Linked DNA regions of Homo sapiens: regions 1, 2, 3, 4, 6 and 7 are each linked to region 5. Evidence: promoter capture Hi-C in 16 types of primary human blood cells and fetal thymus (Javierre and others, 2016). All regions are on one chromosome and are shown on one strand. The core of a region is centred on a gene start or on the middle of the fragment in contact, and the rest is flanking DNA. Distances in the headings are between cores, read along the strand shown. Region 1 overlaps COPZ1 (coat protein complex I subunit zeta 1). Region 2 overlaps GPR84-AS1 (GPR84, ZNF385A, ITGA5 and GTSF1 antisense RNA 1). Region 3 holds the start of COPZ1 (coat protein complex I subunit zeta 1). Region 4 overlaps GPR84-AS1 (GPR84, ZNF385A, ITGA5 and GTSF1 antisense RNA 1). Region 5 holds the start of HOXC-AS2 (HOXC cluster antisense RNA 2). Region 6 overlaps ITGA5 (integrin subunit alpha 5). Region 7 holds the start of NFE2 (nuclear factor, erythroid 2).

Evidence for each region. Contacts are between HindIII fragments. The CHiCAGO score rates a contact against its expected background, and 5 or more counts as called.
Region 1: a contact is called between a fragment that was not itself captured here and the fragment with the promoter of HOXC-AS2 in region 5, in 3 of 17 cell types (total B cells, naive B cells and erythroblasts). The highest score is 6.5, in total B cells.
Region 2: a contact is called between a fragment that was not itself captured here and the fragment with the promoter of HOXC-AS2 in region 5, in 7 of 17 cell types (naive B cells, total B cells, erythroblasts and 4 more). The highest score is 7.8, in naive B cells.
Region 3: a fragment that was not itself captured here is called in contact with the fragment with the promoter of HOXC-AS2 in region 5 in 2 of 17 cell types (naive B cells and total B cells); the score reaches 6.8 in naive B cells.
Region 4: a contact is called between a fragment that was not itself captured here and the fragment with the promoter of HOXC-AS2 in region 5, in 1 of 17 cell types (total B cells). The highest score is 5.3, in total B cells.
Region 6: a fragment that was not itself captured here is called in contact with the fragment with the promoter of HOXC-AS2 in region 5 in 1 of 17 cell types (naive B cells); the score reaches 5.3 in naive B cells.
Region 7: a contact is called between the fragment with the promoter of NFE2 here and the fragment with the promoter of HOXC-AS2 in region 5, in 13 of 17 cell types (naive CD8 T cells, non-activated CD4 T cells, total CD4 T cells and 10 more). The highest score is 17.7, in naive CD8 T cells.

Annotation. Positions count from the first base shown.
Region 1 is chr12:54,339,572-54,342,825 of GRCh38, reverse strand. COPZ1 (coat protein complex I subunit zeta 1) reads right to left here. Exons shown (of 9, transcript NM_016057.3): 2 at 2,211-2,279; 3 at 539-620. Among named protein-coding and RNA genes, the nearest start is that of MIR148B, 4.0 kb to the right of the region's middle. The HindIII fragment of the contact is 170 bases long and covers 1,529-1,698 here.
Region 2 is chr12:54,357,504-54,360,302 of GRCh38, reverse strand. All of the region lies in intron 1 of GPR84-AS1 (GPR84, ZNF385A, ITGA5 and GTSF1 antisense RNA 1), which reads right to left. It also overlaps a transcript of GPR84 not described here. Among named protein-coding and RNA genes, the nearest start is that of GPR84-AS1, 5.2 kb to the right of the region's middle. RefSeq lists silencers at 677-856, 1,007-1,076, 1,087-1,326 and enhancers at 884-1,708, 1,709-2,533, 2,534-2,799. The HindIII fragment of the contact is 3,720 bases long and covers 1-2,799 here.
Region 3 is chr12:54,323,833-54,326,955 of GRCh38, reverse strand. COPZ1 (coat protein complex I subunit zeta 1) reads right to left here and starts at 1,825. Exons shown (of 9, transcript NM_016057.3): 1 at 1,775-1,825. The coding sequence starts at 1,792. The HindIII fragment of the contact is 3,244 bases long and covers 193-3,123 here.
Region 4 is chr12:54,426,527-54,429,652 of GRCh38, reverse strand. It overlaps GPR84-AS1 (GPR84, ZNF385A, ITGA5 and GTSF1 antisense RNA 1), which reads right to left. Exons shown (of 4, transcript NR_120487.1): 3 at 1,728-1,796. Among named protein-coding and RNA genes, the nearest start is that of ITGA5, 8.8 kb to the right of the region's middle. The HindIII fragment of the contact is 155 bases long and covers 1,619-1,773 here.
Region 5 is chr12:53,995,145-53,998,150 of GRCh38, reverse strand. It overlaps HOXC-AS2 (HOXC cluster antisense RNA 2), which reads left to right and starts at 1,366. Exons shown (of 3, transcript NR_047505.1): 1 at 1,366-1,481; 2 at 2,242-2,318; 3 at 2,633-2,943. RefSeq lists an enhancer at 2,366-2,934. The HindIII fragment of the contact is 15,520 bases long and covers 1-3,006 here.
Region 6 is chr12:54,402,350-54,405,382 of GRCh38, reverse strand. It overlaps ITGA5 (integrin subunit alpha 5), which reads left to right. Exons shown (of 30, transcript NM_002205.5): 12 at 9-217; 13 at 489-680; 14 at 908-953; 15 at 1,137-1,238; 16 at 1,417-1,472; 17 at 1,604-1,758; 18 at 2,059-2,196; 19 at 2,333-2,400. The region is part of intron 1 of GPR84-AS1 (GPR84, ZNF385A, ITGA5 and GTSF1 antisense RNA 1); the gene reads right to left. Among named protein-coding and RNA genes, the nearest start is that of ITGA5, 15 kb to the left of the region's middle. The HindIII fragment of the contact is 8,596 bases long and covers 1-3,033 here.
Region 7 is chr12:54,299,583-54,302,534 of GRCh38, reverse strand. It overlaps NFE2 (nuclear factor, erythroid 2), which reads left to right and starts at 1,520. Exons shown (of 3, transcript NM_001136023.3): 1 at 1,520-1,734. RefSeq lists an enhancer at 633-1,373 and a cis regulatory region at 774-1,748. The HindIII fragment of the contact is 10,882 bases long and covers 1-2,952 here.

The sequences.
Region 1 (3,254 bases), core at 364-2,863, 340 kb before region 5:
CAGCTCTTTTGGGCTAAGGTGAGGCCGCCTGTAATGACTTCCAAAGCCAGAAGATGATCTGCACTTTTTGGGTGGTGGCAGGAGAAGAGAAGTATGAACTTGGGGGAGTCTAAATGTATCTTCTGTAACCACCATCCTCTGTTCCTGCCCACTATACCTATTTCCCTACTTGTATATGAGACAGGATACTAGTCGATCCTTCGGAGGTGAAAATGCAGAGCGGTCACCTTTACAGACTTCCATTTACCTGCCCTAATGGATGCGGTACAATAAGCAGAGCTGCAATTAAATTTGTCAAGTGAGGCTCATAAATCCAGGGACTAGACAGGTAGCTAACAGCCAACCTTCCAGCATGGTATTCCCGCGTGAGGTACACTCACCTCCCCATTACATTCTGAAGAGTTTATTATACAAGGGGAAGAAGGAAAAAAAAAGAAAAAGGCAGAGTCATTTCATCCTTTCTCTGCAGCCCTGTTACCACCCCCTTTCCACCATGGTTCCCCCCAGCACGGGTAGTAGTGAAAGGAAAATGACCTACTGTCAGTCCGATGGGTCTTGTTGAAAATGTTCTTCTCAAAGGCCTTTTGCTCCTTGACACTGGGGTAGGTGTCGTCATAGTACTGGTCAGAGGGAAAGAAGACAGGGTTGGGTCACTAGAGCTGGAAGCCAGAATGATTAGTGACTATGTTTTGCCCTGGGATCTTGGATTTCTCTCCTTCAAGGCATGGGGCAAGGGAGAAATACTGACATGGAAAAGGAAGGATTGTAGAGGCAGAGAATGGGCAGTGAGTAATCCAAGAAAAATAAATAAAAGACCCTGCCATAAGCAACCCCACCTCACATTTCCAAGACTGTCTGAAGGCAGAAGCCTACCAGCCCTACAGTGAGGCTCTGCAGCTGTCTGCAATCTAGACCTCTCCTAAAACCATTCTCATCAAGTGTTTCCTAGGAGCTACCCCATGTCAGGAAGCAGTGCCAGAGAACACAAAAAACACTAGAAGCACAGAACACTTCCATAGACCCTCACTCACTGTATGAAGCTGAGGAATGGGGAAAGGCTACAAAAACCTCCTCCAAAGAAAGGCAAACCCTGCCCTATGATCTATCTTAGCTTTCTTTTCTGCAAGCTGAAAGAAGCATCCAGCATACCACTGAGCCCATTCCCAGGCTCTCCCTGGCAAAGGGGGCGGAGATGCAGGCTGCTAAATCGCTAGCTCTTTAGGGGCTAATCCGTCGCAGTCAGCTGAAGACCCATGACAGGTCTGGCATTTAGTAACTGGATAACTGTTTCAAAAGGTGTCCTGCATAGTTACATCCAATTACAGGGAGGAACAGCTGGTGAATTCTAAACTAATCTCTACCTGCTGATTGATTTATGCTACGCTCGCCCGGAGTTAATACACCAGGGACAGAAGAAATTTCTACAGGAGGGGGAGAATATGGAGGGAGAGAGGGTGTCCTTTCTTCTTTCTTCCAACAGATCTAAAGTTGGAAACATCACTCTGGGAAAGTCAGGAGGTAACAAGCTTGATGGTGACTATAAACCTAGGAATGGAAACCTGGAACTGCAAGACAATTCTCTGGAAAAACCCAGGCAGGGTGACATGGTATGAGGGAAGGGGACAGGAATGATGGACATGGGCGGACTGCCTCTTAGCATCTACATACTGCTTTGTTAGGAACCAAAGTTTCAAAGCTTTTCCCTGATCTGATGCTGACAACAAAGGAGGTCAAAGTCTGAGGACAGCAAGCAGGGCAGCAGTACAACTAAGGGACAAAAGAAAACAGGTTTTATCTGGAGTAGGCAAGATAAGATGGAAGAATTCAGGCCGGGTGTGGTGGCTCACACCTGTAATCCCAACACTTTGGGAGGCCAAGGCGGGCGAATCATGAGGTCAGGAGTTTGAGACCAGTCTGGCCAACCTGCTGAAACCCTGTCTCTACTAAAGATACAAAAAATTAGCCGGGGGTGGTAGCGCGTGCCTGTAATCCCAGCTACTTGGGAGGCTGAGGCTGCAGTGAGCCAAGGTCACGCCATTGCACTCCAGCCTGGGTGATAAGAGCGAAACTCCATCTCAAAAAAAAAAGATGGAAGTATTCTCAAAATTATACTACTGAGGAACATAAGTTAATAAGGTATCAGTCCCAAGATTCAAATCTCAGAATAAACCTTTGTGCTGTTCCTAAACTAATTCGAAAGGGAATCTCACCTTGGCAAAAAGTCGATCTCCATCATTGTCCAGAATCAGGATGGCTTTGACAGTATACAGGGAAGGTTCCTGAAGAGATACGAACATACCTTCAGTCCTGAAGCCTCCCATCACCACTGGTAAACCAGATACCTTCCCCTAGTCCCACTGGGGCTGCAAGGGGATACAGAGGTACCTCTGTAAGTCCCTTACCTCAACTTGGTCAGATTTTGATATTTCCCATTGAGAAAGACCCAGGGTAAGTAAACTGAATTGACAGAGAAAGCATTTAAACAAAGGATTCCAAAGTACCATCAGAGAAACAGTTTCTCTGACTCACAGGGGGCTTAATCAAGAGAGGTCATGCTGTTATTTCCAAATATTATGGTACAGTTATTTTCCAAATTACCCTCTCCCTTCCTGCTCTCCCATGTACAGGTGGCTATAGAATGTGACCAGATTAATTAAAAGGCACTGAACAAAGCCATTTGAAAATAGGGTTGAATGTCCTAGTATACTTGGAAGTTTCTGCAGTCCGAATGCAGTAGCAATGCAGAAGCATAAAGCAAGCCTTCCCTAAACCACCCACACACTAAGCAGAGGGAAAAGAGCGTTTACACACACACACACACACACACACACACACACACACACACGCACAGGCACACCAGTTCTCAATGCAGCCTAGTAAAACAGCCATCTTCAAAAACTCTCCTATGTTCTCCAATTCTTCCACTATACCTTAACCACTACCACTTAACTTCCAAGGACAAAAGCCAACCTGAATTTTGGGGGAGTTAAGAAGCAGTGAGAAGATGATCTATCTGAGAAACACTCTGGGGCCTAGAGTGAGTGAGCAAGAGGGTAATTTTTTTTCCACTACCAAGAATCAAATAAGGAATCACGGCCTCAGTCTTAATGGTTCTTCTTCAACTGTAAGTATATCACTTGCAAAACCTGTGGTGGTCTGTTGCTCTCCTCTACCACTGCAACTTCAAGGGAGCCAGCTAACTAGGAGAAGGAAAATCGCAGGAGGCTGAGGCAGGAGGATTGCTTAAGGCCAGT
Region 2 (2,799 bases), core at 9-2,508, 360 kb before region 5:
CAAAATTACCATGAAGTATCTATTATAATTTCTTTCTTACAAATGTGAAAACTGAAGCACAAATAGGTTAAGTAATTTGTCCAAGGCCGAATGCCTAGTACGTTGTAAGACCGTGATTTGAGGGCAGAGTCTCAAATCCGCCTTTCTAAAACTAGGATCAAGTGTCCAGATGATCCCTAACTGTCCTTCCTATTCAGACCTTCTAAGATTCTGAAAGTTGACAACTCTGAAGAGTTGTAAAAGGATTCACTTTACATGTCCTTAGAAGGCAAATCACAACGGTGTCAAGTAGAAAGGTGAAGCAATAGGGATTGAGGTTAGACCTCAGAAAGGACTTCCCAATTATCAGTCGCTGGGGGGAAAAAAAAAAAACTCAGGAGACACAGAAGGAAATCCTGGGGTCTAAGACCATAGAGGACAGATCTTAGCAAAAAAGCAGCCACCCGCCACGGCCCACACATCCACCCCAGCCCCTAATTTCAATAAGGGCTGAATGAGGGGAATGAAACTGAAGAAAAGCCAGGCTTTCTTGAGGCCTTCTCTCTCTTGCGGTTGTGCTTGGCGAGTGAGGCCATGCACTGGGTCCCTCGTGGTGCGTTGCTCATGCGTGTCTCGGGATGTGTGTGTGTTTGGAGGCCCTTTATGCTCACGAGTGTGAGTCACTGTCTGTCTCTCTTTGTCTCTTTATCTCTGTCAGTCTCTCGCCCGAGTCCGAGCTCTATCCCTGACTTTCTGACGCTATCTCTCACTGCCTCTCTTTGTCTCTTTCCATCTGTCCGTCTCTCCTGTAGGCTGTCTTCATCTCCTGTACCTCTGTTATCGCCTTTTTTTTTCTCCTAAGCTCGTCTCTCCAATCCCCGCTGCCGCGCTCCCCCCGCCCCCTCCCCAGTCGCCCGCCCGGGCTGTTCTTGCTCGTTCGCACGCTCTCTCTCTTTCGCTGTCTCTTACAGGCAGATTTATGGTCAGCCCAGGGCCTTTCATTGGCCAAGCGCTGACAGAACTTGATTTAACGCCGCCTCTCATTGGCTGAGCTTGACAGGCCGATTTACGAGTCACTCTACCATTGGCCAAACCACCTTGGCCCTGATTTATGGCTCAGCAGCCGCGGGGAGGGGGGTGCAGCTGCTAGGGAGTGAGGAGTGAGGATGCCCCTCCCCTCCCCTTCCCGCCGCGTCCCTCCTCCTCTCCCCCGCTTTTTTCCCCTCTTTCCCTCCCCTCAAGGAATGGCGCTCCCTCTACCTGTTCCTCAGGCCCCCTCCTCCCTTCTCTTTCGTCCACTGGGAGGGGAAACTGGGGTGTGGTGGTAACGGGAACTGAAGGGATGATGGGGTCTGAGGGTACACATGGGCCGAGGAGTCGAGTTTGAGGGGTGTGGATGGGGGCCGACAGGGAGAGCAGAGGAGACTGAACAGGGAGAGAGGATTCCGAGCTGAGGAACGAAGGGGAAACTGAGAGGGCAAAAGGATGACAGAAAGAAAGGAAGGTTGAGGAGAGAAGGAAGGCAGGGGAAGAGAGAGAGGGTTAAGGAGCTAAATGGGGGGTTGGGTAATTTGTCCAAGATCCGAGAAGAAAGAAGGAGAGATGAAGAGAAAGGACACATTTGAGGGGCCACACGGGCTGAAGCAGGGAAATCGGGCATCGAGAGAGGGACTTTTCAAATCTCACTATCCAGACTGAATAAGAGACGGAAATTTCCTTTTCACACAATGGCTCTGAAAAGGAAAAGCATTAGAGAAGCAAAGACAGAGAAAGGCGCAATAGGGAGGTGAGAGAGAGGGAGAAGCAGGAAAGGACAACTGGAAGGTAATAGCAAAGAAAAGAGAGAGGGAGAGCGACAGAGAACTAATGGGAAAGACCAGGAGGAAGGTAGGTTTTTGGTTTTTTGTTTGTTTTTAGGGGAGGGAGGAAAGGTGCCGTGAGAGAAGACTACTCCCCAACGGAAATATTGACAGAAAGGCTCCTCCTCCTCCCCTATGAAGACCCATTGGCGTCTGCAAGGGGACAGACGAGTCAGGCGCCTCCCCCAGGAGATATTCTGCTTCCTCAAGGCTGCAGTAAGCTCCCCATCCCATGCACCTCACTCCTCCCCTTGCCCACCTCCCCAGTTAAATTTATGAGTCCAGGGTGGCCTTCAGGAATTAGGAATATTTATGCTTCTTTGAGAGTGAGATTTAGAAGGTGATAAATAAGGGTCCACTGGGGGGTGCAGCTGGGGGCTCCTATTTTTAACATGGCCATTTTCCCAAGGCCCCACCCACACATTCCCTCTCCTCCTGAGCCAGAGAAGGAAGCACAGACGGAGGTGAGGAATGGGTTTCAGGTATCAGGAAGAGGGGTTGACTATCCTGTAGAGCCCCTCAGAGGACTGCAGAGCTTTGCAGCAGAAAGGATTGAAGGCAGATAGGGGAGGAACTTTCCAAGCATCCTGGCATTCGTATAGCCCCTAGTGTGCAGTTACAACATTTTTGCAGAAGGTGGGGAGAAGCCCATTTCCCCCCTGTCCCCTTAAGCTCAGTTGCTGAGGAATAGGGGAGATAAGCCAGAAAATTCAGAGGCAGATTTCTCTGGCCTGTCACCATCCTCACAGGAAAGGAAGATTTGAAATCCCCCACCTCCACAGACCACAGCCTGGATCCCTGGGAAAGGAGGCTAGGAATGTGGGGCTCAGGGCATCTCCTAGGAGTCTTGGCCTCCAACCTGCCCACCCTCACTGCTGCTGAGAATTAAAAACAGCCAATACTTCTTGACATCCCTTGCTCTGGGCCTCCAGGAAATTGAGAAGGGGTGGTGGATCTGCCT
Region 3 (3,123 bases), core at 565-3,064, 330 kb before region 5:
TTGTTAACTGCTTGGTACAGAAAATATTTAAAACTACTCAGATTTTAAGCTTTTTACCTATATTTGACCAACCGACATAAGGAATTAACTGTCTTTAACTGAAAGAGAGGAATTAAAACCTGTTATTCTTTTATCTGATGAGGATCTGAATGTGTATGCTTAGGAGATCTGAAGGAAAATAAAAGACAAGCTTCTTTGGAAAGAGGCCTAGAGTTCAAGCCAATTAAGGAAGAAGGCTGGGAGTTAAATTCCTACACTATACTACCTACCTACCTACACACACACACACACACACACACACACACACACACACACCCCTCCAAATCGCAAAATAGGGCACTTTTGAGAGAAATTCTCTGGTCCAGTTCTAAAAAGGGGTAACAGGTATTTTATTTGTTAGAACAAGCATAAAGCATCATATGGACAAGAGGGCTAATACAGCCCTTTAGCGACCACAATTCTCATGTAACCAGAGAGGGAGAAATTAGCATCCTAGATCATACAATAAGAATTCCTGGCCCGGCGCAGTGGCTCACGCCTGTAATCCCAGCACTTTGGGAGGCCGAGGCGGGTGGATTACGAGGTCAGGAGATCGAGACCATCCTGGCTAACACGGTGAAACTCCGTCTCTACTAAAAAATACAAAAAATTAGCCGGGAGTGGTGGCGAGCGCCTGTAGTCCCAGCCACTCCGGAGGCTGAGGCAGAAGAATGGCGTGAACCCGGGAGGCGGAGCTTGCAGTGAGCCGAGATCGTACCACTGCACTCCAGCCTGGGCGACAGAGTGAGACTCCGTCTCAAAAATAATAATAATAATAATAATAATAATAATTCCTGGCCAGGCGCGGTGGTTCAAGCCTGTAATCCTAGCACTTTGGGAGGCCGAGGCGGGCGGATCACTTGAGGTCAGGAGTTCGAAACCAGCCTGGCCAACATGGTGAAACCACGTCTCTACTAAAAATACAAAAAAAATAGCCGGGCGTGGTGGCACGCGCCTATAGTCCCAACTACGCGGGAGGCTGAGGCAAGAGAATAGCTTGAACCCGGGAGGTGGAGATTGCAGTGAGCCAAGATCGCGCCACGTGCGCACTCCAGCCTGGGTGACAGAGCAAGGCTCGGTCTCAAAAAAAAAAAAAAAAAAAAAGAATTCCTAAGGTCTAAATGGGTAGAGAAAAGGAGAACAGAATAAGGAGTCTAGAAAAAATATTCCACAATCCATGCTAACTTTATCAGGTATCCCAGAACTTTGATGGAATACTGATTATTTGACAAACCTATATAATAGGGATTAACAGGAAACCGAAGACAAAACAGTTTCCTGAAGGAATGTGGCAGGGAATCGGCAATGGAGAGTCAAACTTGGGAAACCATCAGGAGGAGTCTGTAACGACAAAACATCTGTATTCTTTTCTTACAATATGGGGCGAGTTTGGTGGTTTGGTAAATTAAAATCAGGGTATCATCCACAATGCTAAAAATAAGGGGCAACCTGAAGGGTCCTAATCCAGTACGCCTACAGGTCTGTGTATCCTAAGGAGTCCATGTGCTGCCTTCAACTTTCCACCGACTCTATGCCCTCTCCCCGGCAGGGCTTCCTACTCTAAACCAAGGCTTTAGCTCCTACACTAGGCCACACACTTATTCCAAAGGTCAGCAGAACGCTCAGTCCCCAAGAATTACCCGGAACTCTCTTTCCCCGTCTCCCACTCGGGCTGAACCCTGACTCCCGGCCCCTGTGGACACCACAGCATCTCTGCTGCCCCTCCAGCTCCTACCAAAATCAGCGCCTCCATCTTGCCCCGCAGCTGGTGCCGACGTGGAGCCGCAAAAGAAACGCCGCCGCTGATTGGCCATACGTTCCCATTAGGCCCCGCCTAGGATAAGGATCATTGGGTAAGGCTTGCTTTATTGGCCAATTATTGTACTAGCTTGCTTACCGGAAGCAAAGTGTCCAACCAGAAGGCTCAGGTGTTTGATTGTCAGCTTGAATACTCAATAAAACGCCAAAACCTCACGACTCATTGGGGCGGGAGGGTTAGTGGGGCGGGGTTGTTTCCATGGGGAACAGAAGAAGCGATTGTTAATTTTCAATTGGTAGGGCCGAGGACACGTGATATTGTCGGACTGATTTAGCGATTTTTAAACCGCACCCTCTTTAGGGGGCGCTGTGTCTCCTTAGCCTTTAACACTGGCGCTTTCTAACCGGAATCCTGCCCTAATCCCTATTTTCAGCGCCCGCATTAGGTCCATGATCTCTGTGGCTAGCCCTTCCCTCATGCTCGCTCAGGTCACTTCAGCATCCTCACAGAAAGTCTGCACAACCATAGAGTAGAGCCAAGAAAGGCCCAACATGTTAACTACATAAACCAAGGCTGCCAGGAGTTGATAGTCGCAATAACAATCTCCCTAAGGTGGAGTTCCAGGCTTTGCTGGGCCTGAGGAACATGAGAAGTCAGTTTGTAAAGGCCAACTTGAGCTCAACGTGAAATCGGCTTTGGAGATGGGGTTTGCGGGACAAACGGGGAAAGGGATGGGATTAGAATAAGAGAGGGGTTATAGGGAGTAAATTCTGGGGTTTTCCAATAGAAACAAGCCGTTGTGCCTGGGCGCGGTGGCTCAAGCCTGTAATCCCAGCACTTTGGGAGGCCGAGGCGAGCGGATCATCTGAGGTCGGGAGTTTGAAACCAACCTGACCAACATGGAGAAACCCCGTCTCTACTAAAAAAAAAAAATACAGGCCGAGCGTGATGGCTCACACCTGTAATCCCAGTACTTTGGGAGGCCGAGGCGGGCGGATCACGAGATCAGGAGATCAAGACCATCCTGACTAACATAGTGAAACCCCGTCTCTACTAAAAATACAAAAAATTAGCCGGGCGTGGGTGGCGGGCGCCTGTAGTCCCTGCTACTCTGGAGGCTGAGGCAGGACAATGGCGTGAACCCAGGAGGCGGAGTTTGCAGTGAGCTGAGATCGCGCCACTGCACTCCAACCTGGGTGACAGAGCGAGACTCCGTCTCAAAAAATATACATATATACAAAATTAGCCGGGCGTGGTGGAACATGCCTGTAATCCCAGCTACTCGGGAGGCTGAACCAGGAGACTCACTTGAACCTGGGAGGCGG
Region 4 (3,126 bases), core at 447-2,946, 430 kb before region 5:
AATCCCAGCTCTTCTGCTTACCTTGGGCAAGTCTGTGCCTCAGTTTCCTCATCTTATAAAATAGGTCAATAGTACCTCCCTGATAAAGGGGCAGTGCCAATTAAATAAGTTAATTCATATAAAGCTCTTAGAACACATACTATATAGCATAAAGCATAAGCTATTATTATTATAGGAGAGACAATAACTCCAGGAAGCCGTGCCTCCACCTCCACCCCCCATACATACCTGAGTCATGTGGCACGGTTCCTCTCTCTTCCTGGGATCTCATTACCCTTCTCCAAACCAGCCCATCTGGCCCCTGTGCAGTCTTACCCTTATCCAACCCCCAGCTCTACCCCTGGGGCCCAAACCTGGGTGTAGGGGAGGGAAGAAAGGCAAAACGTGGCCATTTTAGGGCAGAAGAACTGTTAGAGGGGAGAAGGGGTGGGGGCAACAGGGAAGTGGACCCAGAGTTGGGAAGCTCCTTATTGGGAAAGGCCCCTGTCTGATTCTGGGAGACAGAGGCCAGGCCTGGGCACTCAGCCAAGTCCAAAGAGCAGGCCCCAGGCCCTAGTCCTGGCCCCCAAAGCCAGCACCAGTGAAGAGACTAAATGTTCAGTTGCTTTGGGCTCTTCTCCAGACAGTCACAGGACACTTCCCCTACCCCAACCTCACCTATTCTGACAAAATACCCATGGTGATTAAAGTAGCTAGAACCAGGAGTACAACGTCTCTGTGTATATATGTGTGTGTTGGGAGGAGGGAGAGACTCATGCTTCCGGGCCATAATAAGGTCAAACCACTGTTCCAAAAGTGGCTGTCTCCAGGACACTGCCCACCACCCACAACCCCCACTACCTCCCCCCAAGTCCAACGGCTGGCTGTGAACTCCTCCTACAGGAACCCAGCCAGTTCTGGGGAGACTGCTGGTGAGGGGGGGCCCAAGGGTGAGTAACGGTTCCCGTGGGGATCGGGGTGCCCATGACTAATCAATGAGAGGGTGAGAAATAAAACTTACATTCCTTGACTTGTAGGGCAGTAGCTGGAGGTGGGAGGTGGGGCAGGGGCAGACTGAAGCAAGGACAGCCAAGTAGGGACGCAGAGCGGGAAGCGAGGCTGAGGTGGGGGTAGGGAGTCCTTCCAGCCCTGCTCTCTCCATATCTCAGGCTGAAGGAGAGGCAGGCCCCAGGTAACCAAACACCTGGGTTTCTGCTTCCCATCCCCTGGCAAATAAGCTTCTCCTCCAGTTCATTCAATCCAGGGCTACAGACTTTGAATGGGCTGAGGGAAGGGCACACTGACATCTCATTTGCATTCCTCAGCCCCTGCCCCACTCATCTAGGAGTCCCTATGCCCAGAAGACCCGGCTTGGAAAAACTCCGCTGTGCAAGGCTGAGAGCCAGACTAAAGGCATAAAAGCGGAAATGAGCTGGGAGCCAAGATGCTGAGAGAAGGAAGGAAGCCAGTCTGCTGCCACAAAGGAGTCAGGAAAGAGAGGGAACAAACAGCCAAGTGCTTCCTGCCCATACCCTTCCCTGCCTCTCCACCAACCTCCTCCAGCCTGTCCAGACATCTCAGGCCCAGGGCAGAGTAGGGAAAGGAGTGCAGAGACCCACACGAAACGCCCTCTAAAGCTTCCAGCTCAGCAGCCTTCATGGCAGAGGCCGGGGCTATTCTCACAGCAGCCCCTGCATCAATAGCTAGATGATCACTCCCATGTTAGCCAGTTCCAGAAGCTCCCTTACCCCAATTTCCTCCACCAAAGTGACCCGTTCCTCTCTGTTTCAAGCTTGCTTTCTCTGGCCCTCCAGTATCTGCAGTTGAAAGAGAACACCATGAGTTTGGGAAGGGATGTGGTAGTGGGGAGGGTTGGGAGAGTTGTAAGAACAGGCAGCCCTCTTCCCCAAACTGCTATCTCACCTCCCACTGCACTGGCAAGAGAGCAGGGGCAATCACACCTCACACACACACACACACACACACACACACACACACCCCCAACTTTAGCCTATTGACAGATCAGGATACAGATACCCCACCCATGCAAATACACCAACACAAGCATGTTCAGGTTTTCAGACCATACACACACAGAGAGGGAGATTTTCACCTCACAGGCACATTCACATCACACAGGATCTTTTCCCAGCCTGGCCAGCACAAATGGTGAACATGGGAAAGATGTAGAAACCTGGGTCAACTTGGGCCCAAAATATATTCCAGCTTTGGCCCTTCTCCAGGTCTGTTTCTCCATTCCTTGCTACTCCCCCAGGGCTTTCCCATGCAAAACACAGGAGAAGGCGGAGAGGAGGCACCTGAGGGTGCTCTGTTCCTAAGCTGTGATACTCAGTCAACTCTGTCTGGGTTTCTGGAACCCAGCCCCCCTCCCTGAGGTGATCACATGGAAAATGTCCAGCTGCGGTTGCTTGGAGAGATGAGCTCAGCCAGTCTGAGTGGGGCTGGGGGCCTGGACTCAGCGTCAGACTTTCCACTTCGGACCTTACCCCTCCTCCCACCTCCAAATACCACTCCAGGGATTCAGGAGCAGGAAAGGGGCCAAAGGGACTTCTGACACAAATGTCGCAGTCTTGGACTGGTTCAGAGGGGAAGGGTGGACACTGATGAAGGGCGGAACAGATCTGGAAGCACCTCTAGTCTGCTTCATTCCTGCCCACCCACTTCAGGGAAATAAATCCAAAGATGGACCAAAAAAGACAAGGGAGACTAGGTTGCAGTGTAATAAGTGGGGGGAAGATGACTTCAGAAATTGGTCCCCCGGGGTGGGAGTGGGAGGGCAGGGAACTCAAGAATAGATTCAACTCAATGACCCCAAAATGACAAAGGACATAGAAAGCTGGGTCCTAAATGGGAAGCTGGGGGTGGCAGAGGAAGGAGCAGACCAGTGTTACACTGCCTCTCATTGGCCAATGAAGAGTTCCTGACCTGGCAGGAGGAAAGGATTAGTCTCTCCATCCAGTCTTCCAAAGTATATTTCCCACTCTCCATGACTCTGCACCCCTGCCCTCCCTCTCCTCACGTTCCTTTCCCTCTGTCCCCCATCTCTATTATGCGCTTCCCCTTTCCTTTCTCCTTTCCTCTCTCCTACCATCTTTCTAGGATCCTCCTTCCTGGTTCCTCCACCCC
Region 5 (3,006 bases), core at 117-2,616:
ACTTGGGGGTTCAGCTCCTTGGCGCCACTGTCTTCCCCTCCCTTGAGCTGGACTGAGCTGGGAAGCCCAACTTACAACAAGAAACAGAATATCTCTTTGGCCTTGATGGAGTTGGGTTAGCTGTCAATCAAAAAATCTCCCTCACTAGTTCAAGGAAAAGACAGGAGGTTCCAGTCCCCCTGCCGAGGCTTTCTCCAAATCCCCAGTACAGCCAGCACCTCCCCCAGCCCAGGGCGGCTGAGGACCGGGCCCGGCACTTGGGCGGCTGCTGGCAGCGATGAGCAGAGACGTTTAGCCCTCAGCGGGGCCCGGGGCCAGACTGAGACCAAGAGGACATCAGGGGACAGAGCCTGAGAGAGACTGAACCCGAGACAGCCTGGGACAGACCAACTGAAACATGGAGTCAGGCCCAAGAGAGGAAAGAAGGAAGCGGAGCATTAGAATAAAGGGAAAAAAGGGGGAGAATTAAAAGAAGGAAGGCAAGATGAAAAGAGATAGGAGAGCCGGGAAAGGCAGGCGTGCAGAGAGGGAGGCGGAGGAAGGGCGGCCGTAGGCAGGCAGGACGGGGCAGGGGCGAGCTGGCGGAGCAGCCGTGGCATTGTGCAGCCCGCTGGCTTGCCGGGCCTTTGCCGCGGGACCGGCTCCGGGCGCGGCGGCCACTTCTGTCTGGACACAAAGGCGGAAGAGGGCTCCTCTCCTGCCCCTCCCAGGAGACTTGCTCGGATGGGTACTCTAGGCCTCAGGGATATAGAACCCCATATTGGTCCAGACAGCCGCTTAGGCAGCTGGGGGCTGAGCCCTGCTCTATTCAAGGAGCGAAGAAACAGAAGAGGAAAGAGGTTTCACCCCTGCTCTTCCTTTGCGTCTTCTCCAAGCGACAAGGCCAGCTGCCCCAGCCTCAGCTTTCCTGGAGGAAAGAGTCCCTAAGGAGCCTCCCCTATGGGCCTCTGCTATTTGGGAGAGTTCCTCAAATAGACATTGGGGCCGTAAAGAGATGCCCCCTTCTCTCCTACCCCCTTTGAACACCGCCTTCTTTTCAACTCTTGAGCTGCCTGCGCACCCTGCCTGCCCACTCTGCGGAGGCGGCAGCAGCGGGCAGTGAGGCTCACCGGCGGGATCCCTGCTGCCGTGAAATCCCCTGTGAAACCAAGGAGATTGTCGCTTTCCTTTATTTTATTTTATTTTCTGGGACTATGACCTCCGAACTCTTCCCACTCAGAGGCAGGCACGGCTGTGGATCAGGAAGCAGGCCTCGCCCACAGCCCCTTCCCAGCCAATGCCTCATTTTCCCTGCGCCCTTCGGAGAGAGGCGGCCTTGGGGAGGGGGGCTAGAAGAGGCTGGGAGTTCCGGAGTCCACTGGGCGGAGGTTCCGCAGGTCCACAACTGCATGTGGCCTGTAGCCCCCATTCTCCACATTTGGAGGGGTGTGGGTGGCAGACCAGGGCTTTGAAGCGGACCTGCAGATTTCCCTCAAATCCAGGTTTGTAGGTGCGGGGGGCGGGGCACAAAGGATATAGGGGCACCAAGAAGGAAGGTCTGTCTTCCTGGGGTTCAGTTACTCCTTCTGAATCTTCTGCCATACTCCAGACTTCCCCTCACCCACATACTCCCTTCAATTTTCCTCAGCACCGCTGGGGCAAACCCAGGGACTGGAGGCCACTGGGAGTTCTTGTTGGGGAGGGGGAAACCCCAGCTTTAGCTCGCAGCTGTGCATTCACTCTGGTTCTTAGAGTTCCCTCCCACCCCCAAAAGACTTCACTGGGCACAGGAGAGACCCCTGAGGGGGAGGGGCACCCTTACTCCATCACCTGAAACCTGGGCAGCTGCGGCCACAACCAAACTAGCACCGTGGGAAGGACAGACAGAAAGATAGACAGGTTAGAGTCGTCCCCTCCCCCTGCCCCGCGCCTTCCTTTTAGTGATTTAAATTCCCTCCGGTTCAATCCACACCGTCAAGTTCGGATTAAATTTAAAACAGGCTTTCTCCGGTGTCCCCAGCGGGCCATCCCGGCTGCCGCAGGCAGGGAGCCCGCTCCCGGCTCGTCAGCACCCGCCCTGCGCGGAGAAGGCCGTACTCCATTTGCTTTCATTTTCCTTCTCCCCCTGAAATGGGCTCATTTCACCTCTCCACTGCCCTCTTCCCCTCCCCGCCCCCTCCCTGGTTCCCCTCTACTTTCCCCCCTTCTCTCTCCTGATCCCTCTTTGTTGGGAAAAACACACCCACACACAACTCCTCCTAGCTAAGGCCTGCGCTGGAAGCAGAAACTGAGTTCTCTTGGCCTGCCGCGAGGAAACCCGCGTCCTGCCCCCACCCAAGGTGGGTATCTGGGATCCCTACACACCAGGAGTCAGGTCCCGAGGCCCAGCAGGAGTGAAATCCCCAGGGCCTGTGAACGTGGCTCTCTCAAAGCCACGGCCTGCCGGGCCTGCATTCCCGCCGGCGCCCCCGCCCTGACGCTCCGCAGCAAGCGGGGCTATTTCCGGCTCCCCCAACGCGGTCTGGTTTTCCAGCCTGGGAGTGGCTGGAGGGGGAGCCGCCCCAGAGCTAGAGCCGCTCCCTGCCCTGCCCGGAGCCCCAGTGGCCCTGAGCGCCTTGTTACCTGATCTTTTGTGTGATGTATGTGTCGCAAGGAAATTTGCAGTGACTTTGGAGCCCAGACTGAGGAAGCGGAGGTGGCGAAAGGAGAGACAATACGAGCCCGAAGTACAATTAAGGGGCCAGAGCCGCTCGTCTCTCCCCCGCCCTCCCTGCCCGACTGCGAGCTGTCTGGCCTCAAACCTCAGGGCGACACGCGAACCTGGAGCCGGAAACTCAGCCCGTGGCAGAGGGAGTCAGAGGACTCTGCATCCAGAAAACAGAAGCAAAGCGCCCTTCCAACTTGGGGACGCCTTAACCAGCCCCTCTCAGTTGCAGATAACCCAATGAATGAAAGTGCAAATTCCGCCGTTTTTCCCGATTTTTTTTCCAGCCTTGGGAAGGAGAGCTCAGGGTTTGGGGCGTCTCA
Region 6 (3,033 bases), core at 64-2,563, 410 kb before region 5:
CCCCTCAGGCTGGATGACTTGCTGGTGGGGGCACCCCTGCTCATGGATCGGACCCCTGACGGGCGGCCTCAGGAGGTGGGCAGGGTCTACGTCTACCTGCAGCACCCAGCCGGCATAGAGCCCACGCCCACCCTTACCCTCACTGGCCATGATGAGTTTGGCCGATTTGGCAGCTCCTTGACCCCCCTGGGGGACCTGGACCAGGATGGCTACAATGGTGAGTACCATGGGCTCAGAGAGTGAAAGAGGAGGCAGGGGCCCAAGTCAGAAGGGATTTGGGGAGAGGGCATCTGTCAGCTAAGATACCCAGACCTCCACGACTTCCCGAGGGGTTAAAATCCCACTGTCTGGGTCTTGGGATTTGAAGATTAGAATATAGGGACTGACAGATGGGAAAAAATAGGATCCTAGGTCCTGGGGTCTGGTAGTAGAGATTAGAGCCCATGGATTCCTGGCCTGCTGACTAGTGTGTGTTCTGTGTCTTCCAGATGTGGCCATCGGGGCTCCCTTTGGTGGGGAGACCCAGCAGGGAGTAGTGTTTGTATTTCCTGGGGGCCCAGGAGGGCTGGGCTCTAAGCCTTCCCAGGTTCTGCAGCCCCTGTGGGCAGCCAGCCACACCCCAGACTTCTTTGGCTCTGCCCTTCGAGGAGGCCGAGACCTGGATGGCAATGGATATCCTGGTGAGTTGTGCCTGAGGCCCCTTTTCACCTTAAAATTCCCTGGTCACTGACCCCTACTCTCTCTTCTGCACCTTTCCTTAAGTTCCTGGGTGCAGTTCTGGCTAATTCCAACAGAGGGCGCTGTCTTCTCACTTCAACCTCCCTGAGCGTTGAAACCAGGAGGGGTTAGGAAGAAAGGATCCTGATCTGGGGCTTGCTGTAAGAGGTGATTTCTTGACTTCTTACAGATCTGATTGTGGGGTCCTTTGGTGTGGACAAGGCTGTGGTATACAGGTATGAGCTCCAAAGGGAGATGAGGGGACAACCTGGGTGGACTGGAACTGGAAATTTCTCAACAGAGCTGAGGTTGGGAAAATCAATGCAGAGGACACACATTCTGGCGCTTGGGCATCAGTTTCCTGTGTCCAGGTTACAGAGGAGTCCTAATTCTATTGACCCCACATTCACTCTTGGCAGGGGCCGCCCCATCGTGTCCGCTAGTGCCTCCCTCACCATCTTCCCCGCCATGTTCAACCCAGAGGAGCGGAGCTGCAGCTTAGAGGGGAACCCTGTGGCCTGGTGAGCTGGTGCCCAGGAAATTGCAGAGACCTGAGCCTGGGAGTGGGCAGGGGCACCAAGTCTGCCTTAAAAAGGGGAAAATGGTGGTGTCCTAGTCTGGGTCTGGCTGGGAGATAGGTAGAGGATAGGATGTCTGTTCCAGTTGGATTCACCAGCTTTCTTCTTGGTCTCTCTCCAGCATCAACCTTAGCTTCTGCCTCAATGCTTCTGGAAAACACGTTGCTGACTCCATTGGTGAGGGAGACTGCCTGGATCTCTCAGGCCCTAGGACAGAGAATGAAGGGACTGGGGACCTGGGGACATTTCTTCTCTCTGAAAAGATGAGGAAAGACAGGCAGTTTCCCTTTATATGTCCCTGGCTTCAGGTTTCACAGTGGAACTTCAGCTGGACTGGCAGAAGCAGAAGGGAGGGGTACGGCGGGCACTGTTCCTGGCCTCCAGGCAGGCAACCCTGACCCAGACCCTGCTCATCCAGAATGGGGCTCGAGAGGATTGCAGAGAGATGAAGATCTACCTCAGGGTATGGCCCAGAGGGCGGGGTGTGGACTGGCCAGGGAGGGTGGCCACACAGAACTGAGGGCACCTCCTGAAGGGAAAAAGACTGGGGGACTCCAGTGAAGGGCTTGGGACTCTTGTAGGGGCTGAGAAAGGGAGACCTTCTGTCAGAGGAGCTGGGAAGCAGGCTGCCAGGGCCTCTGAAACAATGAGGATGGTCGGAATTGGGCCCTAAGCAGACAAAGGGAGATGAGAGAGGCTGAGGAGCAGGGCCACTAAGTCTCCAGAGTCCCCTGACTCCGTGAACTCTCTCCTCTGGCCCCAGAACGAGTCAGAATTTCGAGACAAACTCTCGCCGATTCACATCGCTCTCAACTTCTCCTTGGACCCCCAAGCCCCAGTGGACAGCCACGGCCTCAGGCCAGCCCTACATTATCAGAGCAAGAGCCGGATAGAGGACAAGGTGAGGACAGGGCAGGGAGAAGGGACCTGGGAAGACAGAGGCCTGGGTATTGGGGGGGCAGGGCCATGGAAAGAGAAGAGCCTACAGCCCAGGAATGGGTCTAAACTTCCCCTCTCAAGGCTGCCCTGCTCCCCAGGCTCAGATCTTGCTGGACTGTGGAGAAGACAACATCTGTGTGCCTGACCTGCAGCTGGAAGTGTTTGGGTAAGTAGGGCTGACGGTAAGCTAGGGAGCTCCAGGTGCACCTGGCACCTGAAAAAATCAGCTAGGGACATACTAGCTGTGTCGCCTTGGGAAGTTGCTGAGCTGCTCTGAGCTTTAACTCCTTTGTCTGTATAGTGGGAATAGTAGCATTTATTTCTCAGACTTTTTGGAAAGATTAAATGAAATAATCTACATAAAAAATCTAGCCTAGTGCCTGCCATAGAGTTAGAACTCAGTAAGCAGTGTCTATTGTTACTTTATTATTACTCTTTTTTTTTTTTTGAGACGGAGTCATGCCCTTGTCACCCAGGCTGGAGTGCAGTGGCGCAATCTCGGCTCACTGCAACCTCCGCCTCCCAGGTTCAAGCGATTCTCTGCCTCAGCGTCCCAAGTAGCTGGGATTACAGGTGCCTGCCACCATGCCGGGCTAATTTTTTTATTATTATTTTTAGTAGAGACAGGGTTTCATCATCTTGGCCAGGCTTGTCTTGAACTCCTGACCTCGTGATCCACCCGCCTCAGCCTCCCAAAGTGCTGGGATTACAGGTGTGAGCCACCACACCCGGCCTCGTATTACTACTCTTATAATGGTCCTTTGTCCTGGTTTGAGGATTAATTCACCAATGTCCCTTA
Region 7 (2,952 bases), core at 271-2,770, 300 kb before region 5:
AGGCAGCACAGGAGGCTCCTTATGGTACCAGCATTGCCTCTTTACTTCCATGGTTGTGTTGCTGGGTTGTTGGGGATCTTAGAGGAGAACTAGGCTATTGGTGGAGTCGTGGGGGACACTTAGAGGGCTCACAGCAGCTGCCTTTTATCAACTAGGACTGAACATTTTCATTATTTTAACAGCAAATACAATCCCATCAGAGCATGCTGGTTGAATGCCAGTCCTACTCCAGAGTGGCACCTATCTGCTTCCCCAGTCTTCAGATGTTTCTAATTTAACTTGAACATTGTAAGAAGAAAAAATGTAAGCTGCAGATGTCAGGATTGAAGCTAGACATATAGAGCTGAAAGCCATTACAAATTAGGAGGAAGAAAGGCTCTTTTCTCACAGTCTGTGGAGAAAGATGTTTGACCTGGGGCTTTGGTGGTGTAGCTTGCAGGCAAAAAGATGAATAAGTGGGCTGGGTGAGGTGGCTCATGCCTGTAATCCCAGCACTTTGGGAGGCCAAGAGGGGAGGATTGCTTGAGCCCAAGAATTCAATACCAGCCAAGGCAATATAGTGAGACACCACTTCTACCAAAAAAAAAAAAAAAAAAAAAAATTAGCTGGGCATGGTTGCACTGACCCATAGAACCAGCTACTTGGGAGGCTGAGGTGGGAGGATTGCTTAAGCCTGGGAGTTTGAGACTGTAGTGAAACATGTTCACACCACTGCACTCCAGCCTGGGAGACAGAGTGAGCCCCTCTCTGGAAAAAAAAAAAAAAAAAGATGAATAAGGGTACTTACTGGCCTAACAGAGTTGGGTGCCATGTGGCTGGGGTGCTTTGCCTGGGAGAAAGGAGGACAAAGGACACCTGGGGTCCCCTTTACGGGAGGTGAATAATCTCCCTGCTGGGTGGCCCCCCACCTAACTCCCTTCACACACTGACAAAAACCTGGCCAAGAAAGAATCCTTTGTCCTGGGACTTCTGAGGCTGAGGGGGGAGGGGAGAAGGCTACAGGTGAAAGGACACATCAAAGCAGTCAGTTGCCCCTCCTCCTCCAAATAGTTCCCCTGCCCTTGTTCCCAGAGCCCAGGTTTTCTGTAAATGAAGGCTATACCCTAAACGTCCAACTGCCTAGACAGCTGGGAAGCTAGACACCTGGTCCTTACCTTCAGCTGCCTTCCACCTTGATATGACTCAGTTTCCCTGTCCCTAGGAGAGCCGTGGGGACACAAGGCGACGACAACCTGTATAAAGTTTAAAGGTCACATTCGAGTGGACCATCAGGTTGGAATTCGTCAAATGCATGGGAGAAACGCAGACCTGGCTGGACTCCTGGGCTGAAAAGGAGGGCTGGGAGAGGCTTGGAGCCATGTGTGCCCCCGCTGGCCAGGAGCAAGGTGGGGGCGGGGTGTGGGCAGAAACCACATCGGGCTCAAGTTTCCTCTCTTGGCCGAAAGGGGCAGGAGGAGAGGAGAGCCACGGGGAAAGGGGAGGGTTGGAGGAAGGACTGAGAACTCAGGCCGAGGGCTTCAGACGCTGGTGCGCCTGCTTGGGGCTCCTGTGCTCAGCTCAGCCTGAGCTTCCACACTCAGCGCTCAGCAATGGCCCGGGGGCGGGGCGCGGTCCTCGCAGATTCTCAAAGGTAGCCGGGATCCTCGTCCAGCAGTGTCAGCTCAGGCTCAGCCTCCCCAGAGACAACACCGGGAGCCTCATCTCTCTCCTCACCCTGCTGTGACTCCACCACAGGTGCCTGAAAGGCAGGGTGTGTGTGGGGGGGGCGGATTCCAGTGAGATCCGAGGGGCAGGCTGGGGGGTGAAGGAGGTGAGGGGGGAAAATAACCAACTTTCGGTATCCTAGGAGACCTCAGACTTTCTAGATTGCCCCTGGTTTAGGAATCTGACATATTTGGGAACTCCTCTAGGAGAAGACCTAAGTGGTTTCTTGGGTGCTCTGGGATCCTTGGGGTGGAGGCTGTGAATGGGGATCAGAGAGGGGTCTCCAGAGGCAAGGCACCGCTGAGGGGCTGGGGAGTAGCCAGGAGGAATCCTTCAACTGGTGGGCTACCCTGAGGGAACCAATAGACTACCCTTTCCCCAACTCCATTCCATTACTCTGCCCTGTCTAGGCAGCTGAGAAGGTTTAGGGAAAGCTGAGGAATTGGAAACACTGGATATCTGAACCTCTGAGAAGTGTTGCAAGGTGCGGGGGTTGGATGGGAGATTGCCTCTGGGTTGTTGGCTCCTTTGCCCTTTCTCTTCTCTGTGCCCAGGGGCAGTAGAGATCAGCTGGACCTGGAGGGAGAAGGAAGACATCCCAACCCCAGCATAGTTGCTTCTAACTGGAACTCTTGGCTGCTTGGGAAATAGGGGCTTGGGAAGCAGTGGAAGAGAAGAGAGGAGGTATCAGAACTGCTGGGGCTGGGATCCCCTAGACATCGGTACCAAAGGACTGGAGTTTGGGGTCCAGGGATGAAGTGACACAATAGCAGAAACTCGTCCCCCTCTTCTTTGTTCTCACACATTTGTTTGAGTCATGCATGTCCCTAGGGCACTGAGCTCACTATGCTTAAATCTCTCTCCCTCCTTTTTTTCCCCTTCATTCTGTCTCATCTCTGTGTGTCTCTCTCTCTTCGGGAGTTCTCCCTAATCTTTCTAAATAGGTTGCTTACCGGTTAACCAATACCCCAAGTTTTACTAATCCCTCCTCATCCTTTCACTGCACCTATTGACACCTGGAGAGGTGAGGTGGTCAAATAAGCCTCAGAAAAGGGATCCTGAGGCAAGCCCCCTCTCATCGTTCCCCCTCGTTAAGGAAGTTAAGAGCCCTGGGGCAGCAGCTAAGGCCAAATGTATTCCTCTCTCCATCATCCCTCTCCGAATAGTCCTCACTCTGTATTCCTAATCATGAAGCTCCGTATCATTCTGTGAGTACTTAGGGATTATGATAAAAATCTTTCTGGGTAG